Linked DNA regions of Homo sapiens: region 2 is linked to region 1. The links are contacts of gene promoters, found by promoter capture Hi-C in blood cells and fetal thymus (Javierre and others, 2016). All regions are on one chromosome and are shown on one strand. The core of a region is centred on a gene start or on the middle of the fragment in contact, and the rest is flanking DNA. Distances in the headings are between cores, read along the strand shown. Region 1 holds the start of SPICE1 (spindle and centriole associated protein 1). Region 2 overlaps SIDT1 (SID1 transmembrane family member 1).

Evidence for each region. Contacts are between HindIII fragments. The CHiCAGO score rates a contact against its expected background, and 5 or more counts as called.
Region 2: a contact is called between a fragment that was not itself captured here and the fragment with the promoter of SPICE1 in region 1, in 1 of 17 cell types (M0 macrophages). The highest score is 7.5, in M0 macrophages.

The regions. Positions count from the first base shown.
Region 1 is chr3:113,512,691-113,519,519 of GRCh38, reverse strand. It overlaps SPICE1 (spindle and centriole associated protein 1), which reads left to right and starts at 4,364. Exons shown (of 18, transcript NM_144718.4): 1 at 4,364-4,623. It overlaps SPICE1-CFAP44 (SPICE1-CFAP44 readthrough (NMD candidate)), which reads left to right and starts at 4,364. Exons shown (of 52, transcript NR_183050.1): 1 at 4,364-4,623. RefSeq lists enhancers at 3,022-3,071, 3,132-3,181, 3,692-3,741, 4,448-4,497, 4,558-4,677. The HindIII fragment of the contact is 3,693 bases long and covers 1,816-5,508 here.
Region 2 is chr3:113,621,942-113,628,907 of GRCh38, reverse strand. It overlaps SIDT1 (SID1 transmembrane family member 1), which reads right to left. Exons shown (of 25, transcript NM_017699.3): 22 at 5,376-5,481; 23 at 5,175-5,285; 24 at 2,693-2,806; 25 at 1-1,262. The coding sequence ends at 1,200. It overlaps LOC124909410 (a long non-coding RNA gene), which reads left to right and starts at 5,475. Exons shown (of 2, transcript XR_007096007.1): 1 at 5,475-6,966. RefSeq lists a silencer at 1,855-1,954. The HindIII fragment of the contact is 1,099 bases long and covers 1,928-3,026 here.

The DNA.
Region 1 (6,829 bases), core at 3,115-5,614:
ATGCTTTTTATTTATTTTTCCTGTCTGATGGCACTAACTAGAAACTCCAGTACAATGTTGAATAGATGTGGTGAGACTAGACATCCTTGTCTTTTTCTGATCTAAGGAGGAAAGCATCCAGTCTTTCACCATTATGCATCGCGTTAGATGTAGGTCTTTTGTAGATATACTTAATCAGGTCGAGGAAGTTCCTCGCTATTTCTAGTTATCTGAGAGGTTTCTATTAAGACTGGATATTGGACTCCTTCTTTCACAAAACATTAGGACACAAACACAATTTAACCAAGTTCTTACCACTTAAAAACCAGGTTTGCGTATTGTCCAGTTTCCAATATTTTATTCCTTATTTCCACCTGAGACCTCATCAGAATTTCGTTCACTGCCAACACTTTGATCATGACCACTTAAGACAGAGGCTTTTTTTTTTTTTACAGCTCTTCTCTCCTTCTGAGCCCACACTATCGCATCCCTTTATAGTCCAGCCTTTCTCCATTATCCAGTTCCAAAGCTGTTTCCACATTTTTAGGTAATCGTTACAGCAGCACCCCATTTCTCAGTACCAACTTCTGTTTTAGTCCATTTGGGTTACCATAATGAAATACCTTCAAATGGGTAACTTATAAACAACAGAAATTTGTTTCTCATGGTTCTGGAGCCTGGGGAATCCAAGATCAAGGCACTAACAAATTTAGTGTCTGGTTTCTGTGTCCTCATATGGTGGAAGAGGTGAATCCTGTGTCTTCACATAGCAGAAGGGCAAAACGGGCAAAAGGGACAAACAGGCTTCCTAAAAGACTCTTTTTTAAGGGCACAAATCCCATTCATGATGAGCAGAGCCTTCATAATCTAATCACCTCCTTCCTGAAAGCCCCACCTTTTAATACTATCACATTGGCAAATTGTCACATAGAAAGTTTGTGGGGACACATTCAGACCATAGCAATGGCTTGTTTAGAAGTGTATTTTATTCCCCAAATTTTGAGGGATTTTCCAAGAATCAGTCTGTTATTGATTTCTAATTTAATTACATTGTGGTCAGAGAATGTATCTTGCATGACTTCAATCCTTTTGAATTTGTTAACATTTGTTTATGGTCCAGATTATTGTCCATCTTCTAAACTTTCTGTATATGCTTAAGAACCATGTGTATTCTGCCAATTATTGGAGTGTTTAATAAATGTCAATCAGGTCAAGATGGTTGATAGTGTTGCTCAAGTCTCTTATAACCTTGTTGATTTTCTGCTTATTTGCATTATAAATTATTCAGAAAGGGGCATTGAAATATTTGACTATTGTGGATCTTTCAATTTCGCATTGCAGTACTATCAGTTTCTGCTTCATATATTTTTAAGTCCTGTTATTAGATGCAAAAATGTTTAGGATTGTTATGACCTTTTGATTAAATGGTTCTTTTATTATTATTAAATGATCTTCTTTATCTCTGGTTATATTCTCTGCTCTGAACTCTACTTTGTTTAAAATTGATAAAGTCACTCCACTTTATTTTCACTAGTGTTAGCATGATATATCTTTTTTCCATCCTTGTATTTTAAACTTATTTGTGTCTTTATATTTAATGTTTCCCTTCTTATAAGCAGCAATTTAAAAAATTCAAGATTTTAAACAATCTCTGACAATCTGACAATCTCTGCCTTTTATTCAGTGTGTTTAGACAATTTACATTTAATATGATTTATGAGTCTATCATCTTGCAATTTCTTTCCTACTTCTCTCTTTTCTTTGTTTTTTCTTGTTTTATACTTTTAGATTAATCAAGTATTTGTTTCGTTATCCTTTACATGACTTTTGTAAGCTTTTAACAATAACTTTTATTATTTAGTGGCGGCTTTAGGGTTTATAGTATACATCTTTATTTTATCATAGTCTACCTTTAAGTGGTATCAGGAATAGTATAAGGGTCAGGCGCGGTGACTCACACCTGTAATCCCAGCACTTTGGGAGGCCAAGGCGGGCAGATCACCTGAGGTCAGGAATTCAAGACTAGCCTGACCAACATGGAGAAACCCCGTCTCTATTAAAAATACAAAAATTAGCTGAGTATGGTGGTGTGTTCCTGTAGTCCCAGTTACTCCGGAGGCTAAGGCAGGAGAATTGTTTGAACCTGGGAGGTGGAGGTTGCAGTGAGCCGAGATCGTGCCACTGCACTCCAGCCTGGGTGACAGAGTGAGACTTTGTCTTAAAAAAAAAAAAAAAAGGAATAGTATAAGGATTCTAGGTTGATAGCTTTTTTTCTTTGAATATGTTTGAACTGTTATTCTGTCTTCTTGCTTGTTTTGATTCTAATGAGAAACTGATGTAATCCTTAGTTTTGTTCTGCTGTATACGACATGTATTTTTTTCCTTGGATGCTTTTAAGATTCTTTTATCACTCGTTCTGAGCAATTTGATTATGAAGTATTTTGATTAGCTTTCTTCATATTTCTTATGCTGAGCTTCTGAAGGCAGGTCTGTGGGTAAAGATAGTGACAGAAGGATTAAAATAATGATGGGAGCTTAGGGAAGTTCTCTTTTGAATAATTCAGTGTAATCAATGCAGTAGGAAGCAAGGTCATTGTGTGAGAATGAGGATAGGAGACAAGGCATTGGGTATGAATGAAGGTATAAAACTAATATGTAGGAAAATCAATGAACAGGGACCTGTAATGAGATGTTCAAGCATCTTTAAGGTCCTACTTAACATCAGTAATCATGAATTTAAAGTCAGCATGATTGGGTGTTTTTTTTCAGATTCAGCTGCATGGGTGCAAGCACTTAGTAAGTGTAAAGTAGGGATGGCTAATATGGTCATTTTGCCAAGTGATTACAGCAATTTAGAGAGGGGCAGGGAGTTGAGGATGCAAGCAAGTGGATGATTGTTGATTATTAAATATATCTACATCAAACTTCCTCAATCAGAGTGAAAACTATTAAAGGCAGTACCTTTCCTCTAGAAGGTTTTGGGCATGTATTTGCAGACCACACATGGGTGTATTGTAACAGCAGAAAGCAAGGGGCTAGAGGAAATTGTCTTACCAGAGCAAATAAACTCTGTTTTTGAATCAAGTGCTTTGTAAAGTTCTTAACGTGGTCCACGCAGCTCTGACTGTCGTGGATCCAGCCTATCAGGGCGCCTCCCCTTCACAGCAAGTTCCCACTGTTCTCTAAACTTCAGACACACTGGACCTCTTCCTGTCCCTTGCATTTTCCACATCTTTGCACATGCAGCTCCCTCTGCAGGAATGCTTTCCCCTTCCCCACTGGCCTATTCATGTCTGAGCTTTCCTGAGTAATTCAAATATTACTATAATAATAAGCTAAGTATTTGGTTAGAGTGCTTCCTTCTTAGCACTCGTCATAATTTTAATGTTTTTGTCATTGATAACTGTCTGTTAATATGCTGTAAGTTTCCCACCTTGCCTGTTTTTAGCCCCATAGAACCTAGCTCTCCCGCACATTTGTAGGTTGTAATAAACAACTTTTTTTTTTTTTTTTGAGACAAGGTCTTGCTTTGTCGTCCAGGCTGGAGTGAAGTGGTATGACTGTGGCTCACTACAGCTTTGCCCTCCTTGGCTCAAGCGATCCTCGCACCTCAGCTTCCTGAGTAGCTGGAACTACAGGCGTGTTCCCACGCCCAGCTAATTTTTTAATTTTTCGTAGAGACGGGGTTTCGCCATCTTGCCCATGCTTGTCTCAAACTCCTGAGCTTAAGCAATCCTTCTGCTTCTGTCTCCAAAAGTGCTGGGATTCCACTACTAAAGATTTGTAAACAAATGAATAGAGATGAAAGCAAATTAAGTGATATGTGAAGTCTGGTGAGGAGAGCAACATCTTTCTTTTGGAGAATTCTCGAGGCACCGGCTAATGCTATATGCCTATTCTTTTTTTTTTTTTTTTTTTTTTGAGACGGAGTCTCGCTCTTTCGCCCAGGCCGGACTGCAGTGGCGCCATGTCGGCTCACTGCAACCTCCACCTCCCAGGTTCACGCCATTCTCCTGCCTCAGCCTCCCGAGTAGCTGGGACTACAGGCGCCCGCCACCTGGCCCGGGTAATTTTTTGTATTTTTAGTAGAGACGGGGTTTCACCGTGTTAGCCAGGATGGTCTCGATCTCCTGACCTCGTGATCCGCCTGCCTCGGCCTCCCAAAGTGCTGGGATTACAGGCGTCAGCCACCGCGCCCGGCCTGCTATATACCTATTCTTTAATAATTTGCCCTGAACCTTGCAGAGGAACCTCTCTCCCTTAGACTCAGGACCCGAGATAGGCTTTGGGAGGCGCCTGCGCACTGGGCTCGCCGGATATACGCAAGGGCGTGGGGCGGAGCTCTGGTAACCCAGGCAACAGCCCGGAAGCCGCTGGCTGGGTTAACCTGTGGCGCGCTCCGCGGTTCCGGCGCCTGAAGTTTTAGCTGCGGTGGCGGCGGCAGTCGGGACCGACTGCAAGGCAGGTTGAGATGATGGATCTGAGGCTTGCAGCTCGCAGTCCCAACGAGCCTTAGGGACCAGGGCTACCAAAAGGGTGGGGAGAACGGTGGTGGCATCTGTCTGTTGCCTGGGATCCAGGCGCCCGGTTGGGGAATCCTTACTTCAGGAAGCGCAGCCGCGGCTCTGTGTTTTGAGAGTGCAAGTACGTGTCAGGGTGCGTGTCTGGGTATGTTTGTGCGTGGCGCCAGAGCACCTCGAGTATGCGCGTGCGCACCGCTTTCGGGAGCTTTTGCACAGAGCTGGTAATTGGGGGTGCTCGATTGTAGCGTTGGGGGAGTTCACCGTGTAGCAGGAGAGAGGCAAACTATCCAGGGTGCTTTGGGACCGGGAGCGTCATTTAAATCGATGGATGTCAGAGGGGCTTCTCAGAAGGCTCCTCCTGTGAGTTTTGAGGAGTCCGTGGAAGTTAACCCAGTAGAGAAGAGAGTGAGCCTAATGAGTGTTCCAAGCAGAGGGAAAAGAATGGTTGCAACTGTGTGTGAGGCGAGAGCTTGGTTTTAGGATTTGCGGGAGATGTGAGAGAACACTGGAAAGAAAAGTCAGCCGGGCCATATGGGGGAGAGGGTCTGAATGCCAAGCTGAGTTGGATTGCTTTTGACAGTGGGGAGCCATCCGAATCTAGAGGAAGTAGGTAAAGGGTTCAGATCTATTCTCTATCCATGTATTTAGGTAGGATTGATTCAACAGTGTTTGGAAAGAGTTCTTGTTTCTCTTTGATCAGTTTTCCACACCAGTCAGAGTGGATTTACTAAGTCCAGTCATAACTATCCCTTTTAAAATTCTTCAGTGGTTTCCTATGGTCTTAGGTGTTCAGATTGCTGTGGCTCACAAGACTACAATCTGCTGTCTGCCTTTCTTCCTTTAACCTCTCACCCTCTCAGATCTTTGTTAATTGAACTGAACTTCTCAAACTCTTCGTAAATGCATTTTCCCTTGCCTGGAATATTCTTTCCCCTGCTTCTAACTTTTATTCGTATTTTAGCTCTCAGTGCAAACATTTTTGGGGGTATTACAGAGAGGAGAAGCTTTTACTTACTGCATAGAGTTAGTTAGGTACTTTCATGGCACACAGAATTTACTTCCCATGCTGCCCTTTTGTTGTAAATACTTGTTTAATTGCGGTCCTCTTAGAAACTCTTAACTCTGCAAGGGCATAGACTATTCTACTTTCTTGTTATATCTGGTGCCTCGCTTTTAGATGGTGCTTCAAAATATTAGTTACATTAATAGATGGATGATGAAGTCAGTGAGTGAAGAGTGAAAGGGAGACTAATTAGAATAATGAGAGCCTGAACAAAAATATTTTTAGTAGAGATGGAGAAGAGCGGGCAAGAGAGATTTTTAGGGAAAAAGTTAATAGATTCTGTTATCTGATTCACTAAGAGATAAGGAACAGAGGTGATGCTGAGGTTTTAAATTGGAGCAACTAGGATTGTAATTCTGTAAATTCAGCTTAATTGAACATATTTATCGAGTCAACCAGTTATATATCAGCAAGTAGAGATTTGGGGTATGATGATGAGCTGTATTTTGATATACTGTATTTGTGATATTTGGGAGATGTATATAGTAGGTAGTTAGAAATGAGCATTTGGTGTTTTTGTTTTGTTTTTGTTTGTTTATTTTAAGAGACAGAGCCTCACTTTGTCACCTAGGCTGGAGTGCAGGGGCGCCATCGTAGCTCACTGCAGCCTCCAATTCCTGGGCTCAAGCAGTCCTCCCACCTCAGCCTCCTGAGTAGCTGAAACTATAGGCACTCACTGCCACTCCTGGCTAATTAAAAAAAATTTTTTTTTTAGAGACAGGGTCTTGCTATGTTGCACAGGCTGGTCTTGAGCTTCCTGCCTCAAGCGATCCTCCAGCCTCAGCCTCCCGAGTTGCTGGGATTACAGATGCGAGCCACTGTGTTTGAAGTTTTGAGGAAAGGTGTGAATCATTGATTTGGGACTCATTTTCACAGTGTGTTTGTTTGTCCATACATTCATAGCTTTGCTCAAGGGAGTTGGTGAGGTCACTGAGGGAGGATGTGAACTGCCCCTTTGTGATCAAGAAAGCAGCTCCATGAGAGCTGGCACCATATTAGACTTGTTTACTAATATCTTAGTTTATTTAGTTTACTTAGTTTACTTGTTTACTTGTATCTCTAATGCCTAGCCAGTGCCTGGTGTGTGCTGCACTCCCCCAAATAATTATTGAATGAAAGGAGAGGGTATCTAATGGAAAGACAAGAAGAATGAGAACTGAGATAGAACTGGGTGGAAATCCTTGATTAAATTGTTTGTGTGGAGGAGGACAATAGAGCCTGTGAAGAAAAGGAGAAAAGAATAGAAGAGGCCAGGTGTGGTGGC
Region 2 (6,966 bases), core at 1,228-3,727, 110 kb before region 1:
TGGGGAGAGAATGTCAGGTGCAACCGAGAGACAACATTAGATTAGCTGTGCACTTTGCAAGAAGAGGGGAAGAGGACAATACGTTCATCCTGAGAGCTGCTTCTGAGAACCTCAGGGAAGAAGTCTAGAACCCTGATCTACATAAAGTGACAGATGACGGACTCGCTGTGGAGGACTCCTGAAGTAGTGTCCCTGATTAGAATGCTGATTTCTTCCCCAAAGGTGATGTGGGCACAGAACTGAGCTGTGTGAATGGGAGGCCAAATAAGCTCTGCTGAATTTGCTCTGGCAGCCCAAGTCCTTAAGGTGAGGCCTGTCTGGCTGCTGCTGCTGTTACCAGTCTTTTAGTATGGTTAGTCATTTCTCTTGTTCCTGCTGCTGTTAAAAGAGCTTTTCCTGTTTTTCCTTCTGCCTTGAAGCTGGCCAGACATCTGTGGAGTGACAGGGCCTTTCCAAGAAGGCAGAGTCAGAGTGATGAGGTCCACACAGGTCAGTGAGATGAAGACACGAAGGAATATGTAAGCACCCAGGACTCGGTCCCAGTGACAGTTACTTGTTAAGAGGAATGTGTGACAAACCCCACTCCTGAGCCCTTCTGATGGCATCAGAAACCTGGGGGAAATATACAGAGTTTCTTCTGGGAGGTGACTAGCTGGTGCCATTAAAACATCTATCCCAGTAGGGCAGGGCCTGGGGTCACCTCCCCGCCATATTCTAAAGAATCACATCCTCTTGCTGGAGCAGCAGGTGTTGCAGAGGTGTGAAGGGGGCCAACACAGTTTCTGGGCAGGAAGTCCAAGCTGCTGGCCTTTCTGGGCAGGGTGACAACTGGAGGGAAGTGTGCAGCAGCATTCTGCCATTGCTGGCAAGTCTCCGTGAGGGTGGGAGGGACCCCAAGATGGTGAGTTGACTTGGATGCAGTGCCTATCCCTGTTGCACTCCCAAAGCTGCAGATGGAAGGAGCAAGTGTTTCTCAGCTCCTCAGGTTTGCGTCTGTCCTCAAAACATGGCTCCCCTTCTGCCTCCTTTCTTGCAGGTTTAAATCTCCCGCAGCCCCTCTCCTTCCTGTGTGAATGCAGAGTTGGCTCTACAGAGGGTGAGTGGAGCATCTGGCAGTGGTTACTTTGCTGTGGTCACTGTAATTTTTGTGAAACAGCACCAAGATTGATCGCTCCCTCCCCTCTCTTAATGTTGGAGGTTCAGAAGACAGGGATCTGGTCTCTCCGAACCACATCAAGGTCATCATCCAAAGTTAACAAAACCTGAAGTGAGAGGGACAGAGAAATGAAAGGAATGGACAGTCACTGTCACACTAAGTCCTGTTTTCTCTCTGAGATGCACACAGACTGGAAACTGTTAGTTCCCTCTCATTCTCATGCCTTCTGCAGCTCTCTGCAATCCTTTGCTCTTAATAGGCACTTATTATAATTATACAATTCATTTGTCAATTAAATATTCATGAAGGTTTATGATGTGCTATTCCAGATGCTATGGAGATATAGTTGGTAATGAAAGAGACAAAAATCCCTATTCTCCATGTAGCTTACATTCTAAAGAGGGCTTTAGACGTGAAACAAATACATGAGTAAAATATAGCATGTTAGATAGTAATAAGTGCTAAGGATAGAAGTTAAATAAGGGAGGAAATACAGGAAGTATCAGGTGTGGGGAGGTAAAAAATTTTGATAGGGTGGCCTGGGAAGTCATTACTTAGGGGACATTTAGGTCAAGAGTCAAAGGAATAAAGTCCTGTTGGATAGAGTATTGCTATATAAGAAATGTACCCTCCTCCTCCATTTCTAGTTCATTTGACTACTACTGCCCCACGTGGAATCTTTAGTTCCACTTTTGCTGTCTCTGTCTCTCTCATGAAGGTGACGATCAAAAGTAAAAGACGTAAGGACTGTTTATACAGATTGGCCAAGCTTCCCAAACTGGCCACTAGAGGATAGCCCTGCTCCACTCTTGAAGTCATATGGCCTGCCTGAGCCCGCTTTGCGTGGAGCCCGGGCATCTAGTAGGTCTGGAGCCCGGGAGTCTAGTAGGGTTGTTAATTGTCAATTGAACCTGCCTACAGGCACCATGGACTTTTAATTGGGAAAAATCAAAGTTAGGATTAAAGGATGGAACTATAATCCAGGGTTGATATAAATACTCATGGCTTCTGAGAAAGGGTTGGGGCAAAAAAATAGAGAAACTACAGGAGAGATTTGGGACAGACTGGTCAGAAGGCAACAGACACGTGGCTGCTACCCCAAGCCACTTAAGGAATATGTAAAATATTTGTGAAATATTCAGGGAGACTGGAGGAGGAGGAGGAGGAGGAGGAATGTGAGTATGGCATAAGAAGGAATAACCCAATGTTATCGGAATTGCTAAAAGTGGTTCCTGGGGGAATTCTGGGCATGTGGGTCTAATAACCAATTCAGAACAAACGTGCTGTGCAACTTAGGGAAAGTAATTTTGTCCCTCTGTGTCTAAAGATATTGAAGAGTAAAAGAAAAACTAAAGATCTAACCAAAGGATATAAAATTTATGAAAGAAATAAGATGGTCTGTACATTGAATTACAAGGAGGAAATGGAAAGTAAAATTAGAGAGGAATATAAAAAAAAGTAAGGAAGAGCAGAAGAAAAAGAGAGTACAAGATGTAAAGAGAGAAGAAAGTCACAAAAAGATAGATATGAACTCACCAAGAATGAGAAAAACAGAGCAGTAGCAGAGAGGAAGTGCCAGATGTCATGGTCATCGAAGAAATCCAGCAGAATGCACTCGCGGTTCTTCTCCCGGGATTCGGCCGGAGTTCCCTGGAGGAAGGTGAGGCAGGACATGGGCAAGATTCCCACAGTTCAACTGTTCAAAGAGTTGAACGTCCAGAAAGCCACAAAAACGCTACTAGATGTCTGGTTCGAAAAGTTAGCTTCCAAGAAAACATCCATCCACACAAAAACCTGTACACAAAGACCTCAAAAGCACAGGCAACCAAAGCAAAAATAGAGAAGCGAGATTACATCAAGCTACGAAGCTTCTGCACAGCAAAGGAAATGACGAACAAAGTGAAGAGACAACCCACAGAATGGGAGAAAATATTTGCAAACTATCCATCTGACAAGAAATTAATAACCAGAATATATAAGGAGCTGAAAGAACTGTAAGGGAAAAAAAATCCAATTTAAAAATGGGCAAAAGATCTGAATAGACATTTCTCAAAAGAAGACATACAAATGGCAAACAGGCATATGAAAAGGTGCTCAACATCATTGATCATCAGAGAATGCAAATCAAAACTACAATGAGATATCATCTTACCCCTGTTAAAAAGGCTCGTATCAAAAAGACAGGCAATAACAGATGCTGGCGAGGATGTGGAGGAAAGGGAACTCTCACACACTGTTGGTGGGAATGTAAATTAGTACAGCCACTGTGGAGAACAGTTTGGAAGTTCCTCAAAAAACTAAAAATAGAGCTATGGCCGGGTGTGGTGGCTCACACCTGTAATCCCAGGACCATGGGAGGCAGAGGCAGGTGGATCGCCTAAGGTCAGGAGTTTGAGACCAGCCTGGCCAACATGGTGAAACCCCGTCTCTACTAAAAATACAAAAAAATTAGCTGGGCACGGTGGTGGGCGCCTGTAGTCCCAGCTACTCAGGAGGGTGAGGCAGGAGAATCACTTGAACCTGGGAGGTGGAGGTTGCAGTGAGCCGAGATTGCGCCATTGCACTCCAGCCTGGGAGACAGAGGGAGACCCCGTCCCCCCGCCCCCCCAAAAAAAAGAAAGAAAGAAAAAAATAGAGCTACCATATGATCCAGCAATTCTACTACTTGATATATATCCAAAAGAAAAGAAATCAGTATGTCAAAGAGTTATCTGCACTCCCATGTTTATTACAGCACTGTTCACAATAGGCAAAATATGGAATCGATCTAAGTGCCCATCAACAGAGGTATGGACAAAGACAATATGATACACATATCTACATAGACAATGTACATACACCTACAAACACAATAAAATACTATTCAGCCATAAAAAAGAATAAAATCCTGCCATTTGCAGCAACACGTATGGAACTCGAGGCCATTATGTTAAGTGAAATAAGTGAAGCACAAAATGACAAATATTGCATGTTCTCACTCATATGAGGCAGCTAGAAAAGTGGATCCCGTGAAGACAGAGAATAGTTTGGTGGTTACCAGAGTCCAGGAAGGGTGGGGGGAGAGGGAGATGAGGGGAAAAACCAAAGAATATACATGTATTTATGACCACTGAACTGCACATTTTAAAATGGTAACGATGGTAAATTTTATATGTATATTTTACCTCAAGGAAAAAACTTGTACACAAATATTCACAGCAGCATCACTCATAATGACACAAAAATAGAAACAATCCAACTGTCCATCAACTGATGAGCAGGTAGATAAAATGTGATATATCAGTACAACGGAATATTTTTCAGCAATGAATAGACATGAAGTACTATGTATGTTACAGCATGCTTGAACCTAGGACACATTAAGTGAAAGAAGCCAGACACAAAGGCCGTGTATTGTGTGATTCCATTTACATGAAATGTCCAGAATAAGCAAATATACAGAGACAAAAGGTAGATTTAGTAGTTGCTTAGGGGTAAGGGGTTAGCGAGAAATGAGGAGTGAATGCTGATGCATATGAGGTTTCTTTCCGGAGTGACAGAAATGTTCTAAAATCTATTGTGGTAACTGTTCTGATGGAATGCTAAGACTTCTTCCTGTTCTGTGCCTCAGATATACCACTAATTTCCTAGGCTTCGGCTCTGTTATCTATGGACTGGATGTAATGACACTCAGCTTGGGTATTTGTTGATGGATGGAGATTATGAGAAAGATGAGAAGATGAACTACTCAAGGCTTTTGACCGCGTTAAGCATCCACTGGGACCAGCGTCGTAATACAACATGCAATGAAGACCAAGTTTGCAATGTCTGTAGTACTTACAGATTTATAAAGTGCCACCCTGAGAATGATAACGCATGCAGTTATTGTGCATTTGTGTGCGGCTATTAAAAACCATCCCTGGTAGAGAAAACTTTCATTTTAGACACTGTGAAAACACATTAAGAGAGGGAGGTAGAAAGGCCAAAATGGCAAGTTGGAGAGAGAGGTTGTTTTTGGATAAGAAAACTGGCCTCTTACCTCCCAGCTGCTGAGATTCTGGAAGAAAAAATATAGGGCGGCAGCCCACATCACAGCGGTGGCCACGATGCAGAAGAGCGGGACTGGGAGGACCTTTTCAGAGCTGCGGAGCTGTGGGAGGAGAAGCAGATGCGGCCTCACGCGACCCCGCCTTCGCCTGCCCGAGGGCCCGAGGTAGCCGCTCCCGGCACCCGCTCTTACCTTCATGATGATGTAAAAGGCCAGGTACAGCAAAAGGTTACAGATGAAGATGCCCAGCATGTAGGAAGCAAAGTCCCTGGGGCGGTATATCAATCCAAAGAGGGCGCTGCAGGCGTGGGAGAAATGTGGGCAGCCGTGAAGGTGGATTTGTAACACTATTGGCTTTTCCAATCCCCCAGTCCCTTGAGGGGGAAGGGGCAGGTTCTTTTTTTTTTTTTAACTTTTATTTTTAGTTCATTTTATTTTTTTTTAAACTCTTACCTCTGATGGAACAGTAGATTTTTAAAAAAATACTTTAACATATAAGTATCTTTTTTTTTTTTTTTTTTTTTTTTTTTTTAAGAGTTGGGGTCTCATTCCCTCACTCAGGCTAGAGTGCAATGGCACCATCACGGCTCACTGCAACCTCCACATCCTGGACTCAAGCGATCCTTCCACTTCAACCTCTCTGGTATCCGGGACTACAGATGCATGCCACCACTTCCAGCTAACTTTTAAAATTTTTTTTGTAGAGGCAGGGTCTTGCTATGTTGCCCAGCCTGATGTTGGATTCATGGCCTCAAGCCATCCTTTTGCCTGAGCCTCCCAAAGCCCTGGGATTACAGCCGTGAGCCATGGTGCCTTGCCTATATAAGTAACTTTTAATTTAATACACTTTCTTCCAAGCATTCATTTCTAACAACCATGTAAAGTTCCCATAACTGAATGCAATGTAAACAATCATCTTTCCCCTTTTGTTGAAGTGTCTTCCCACATTCTTCGGTTTTTCACTATTATAAGAAACACTGCAATGAATAAATAAATACTTTCAGACATTGAGCTTATGTTTTTCATTTAAGATTAGTTCCTTAGAATAGAAGCAAAATCATCTCCATGATTGGCTTGACACACATTACCAAATTTTTGCTAGCTGTCCATGGTTTTAAAATTAATGCTAAAGTTAATTTTGGTTGGACTCAGCTTTAATTTTGTTCCAAATTTCTATTCAGTTATAATATGTCCTTTATTACATAATTCTTTCTTATCTCTTTGTTTTGAAATAGTTTTTTTTTTTTTTTTTTTTTTTTTTGAGATGGAGTCTCACTGTGTTGCCCAGGCTGGAGTGCAGTGGCACCATCTCGGCTCACTGCAACCTCCACCCCTCCAAGTTTAAGCAATTCTCTGCCACAGCCTCTGGAGTAGCTGGGATTACAGACGCATGCCACCACGCCCAGCTAATTTTTTGTATTTTTAGTAGAGACGGGGTTTCACCATCTTGGCCAGGCTGGTCTTGAACTCCTGATCTCGTGATCCACCTGCCTCGGCCTCCCAAAGTGCTGGGATTACAGGCGTGAGCCACCGCGCCCGGCCTGAAATAGTTTTTGATGAATACACATCCACATATATATTTTTTAAAATCTCAATATCTCTATCTAGTTGGGTTTCTGTCCTCCATTCGGATTCACTGATTCATATTTCTAATTTCTAATTTTAGATCGGTGCCTCACTATTTTATTATTATTTTATAATATGCTAGATTATCTGATTAGGCTAGCCTGCACTGTTCCATTTGGTAGCCACATATGGCTATTAAAATTAAATAAAATTGAAA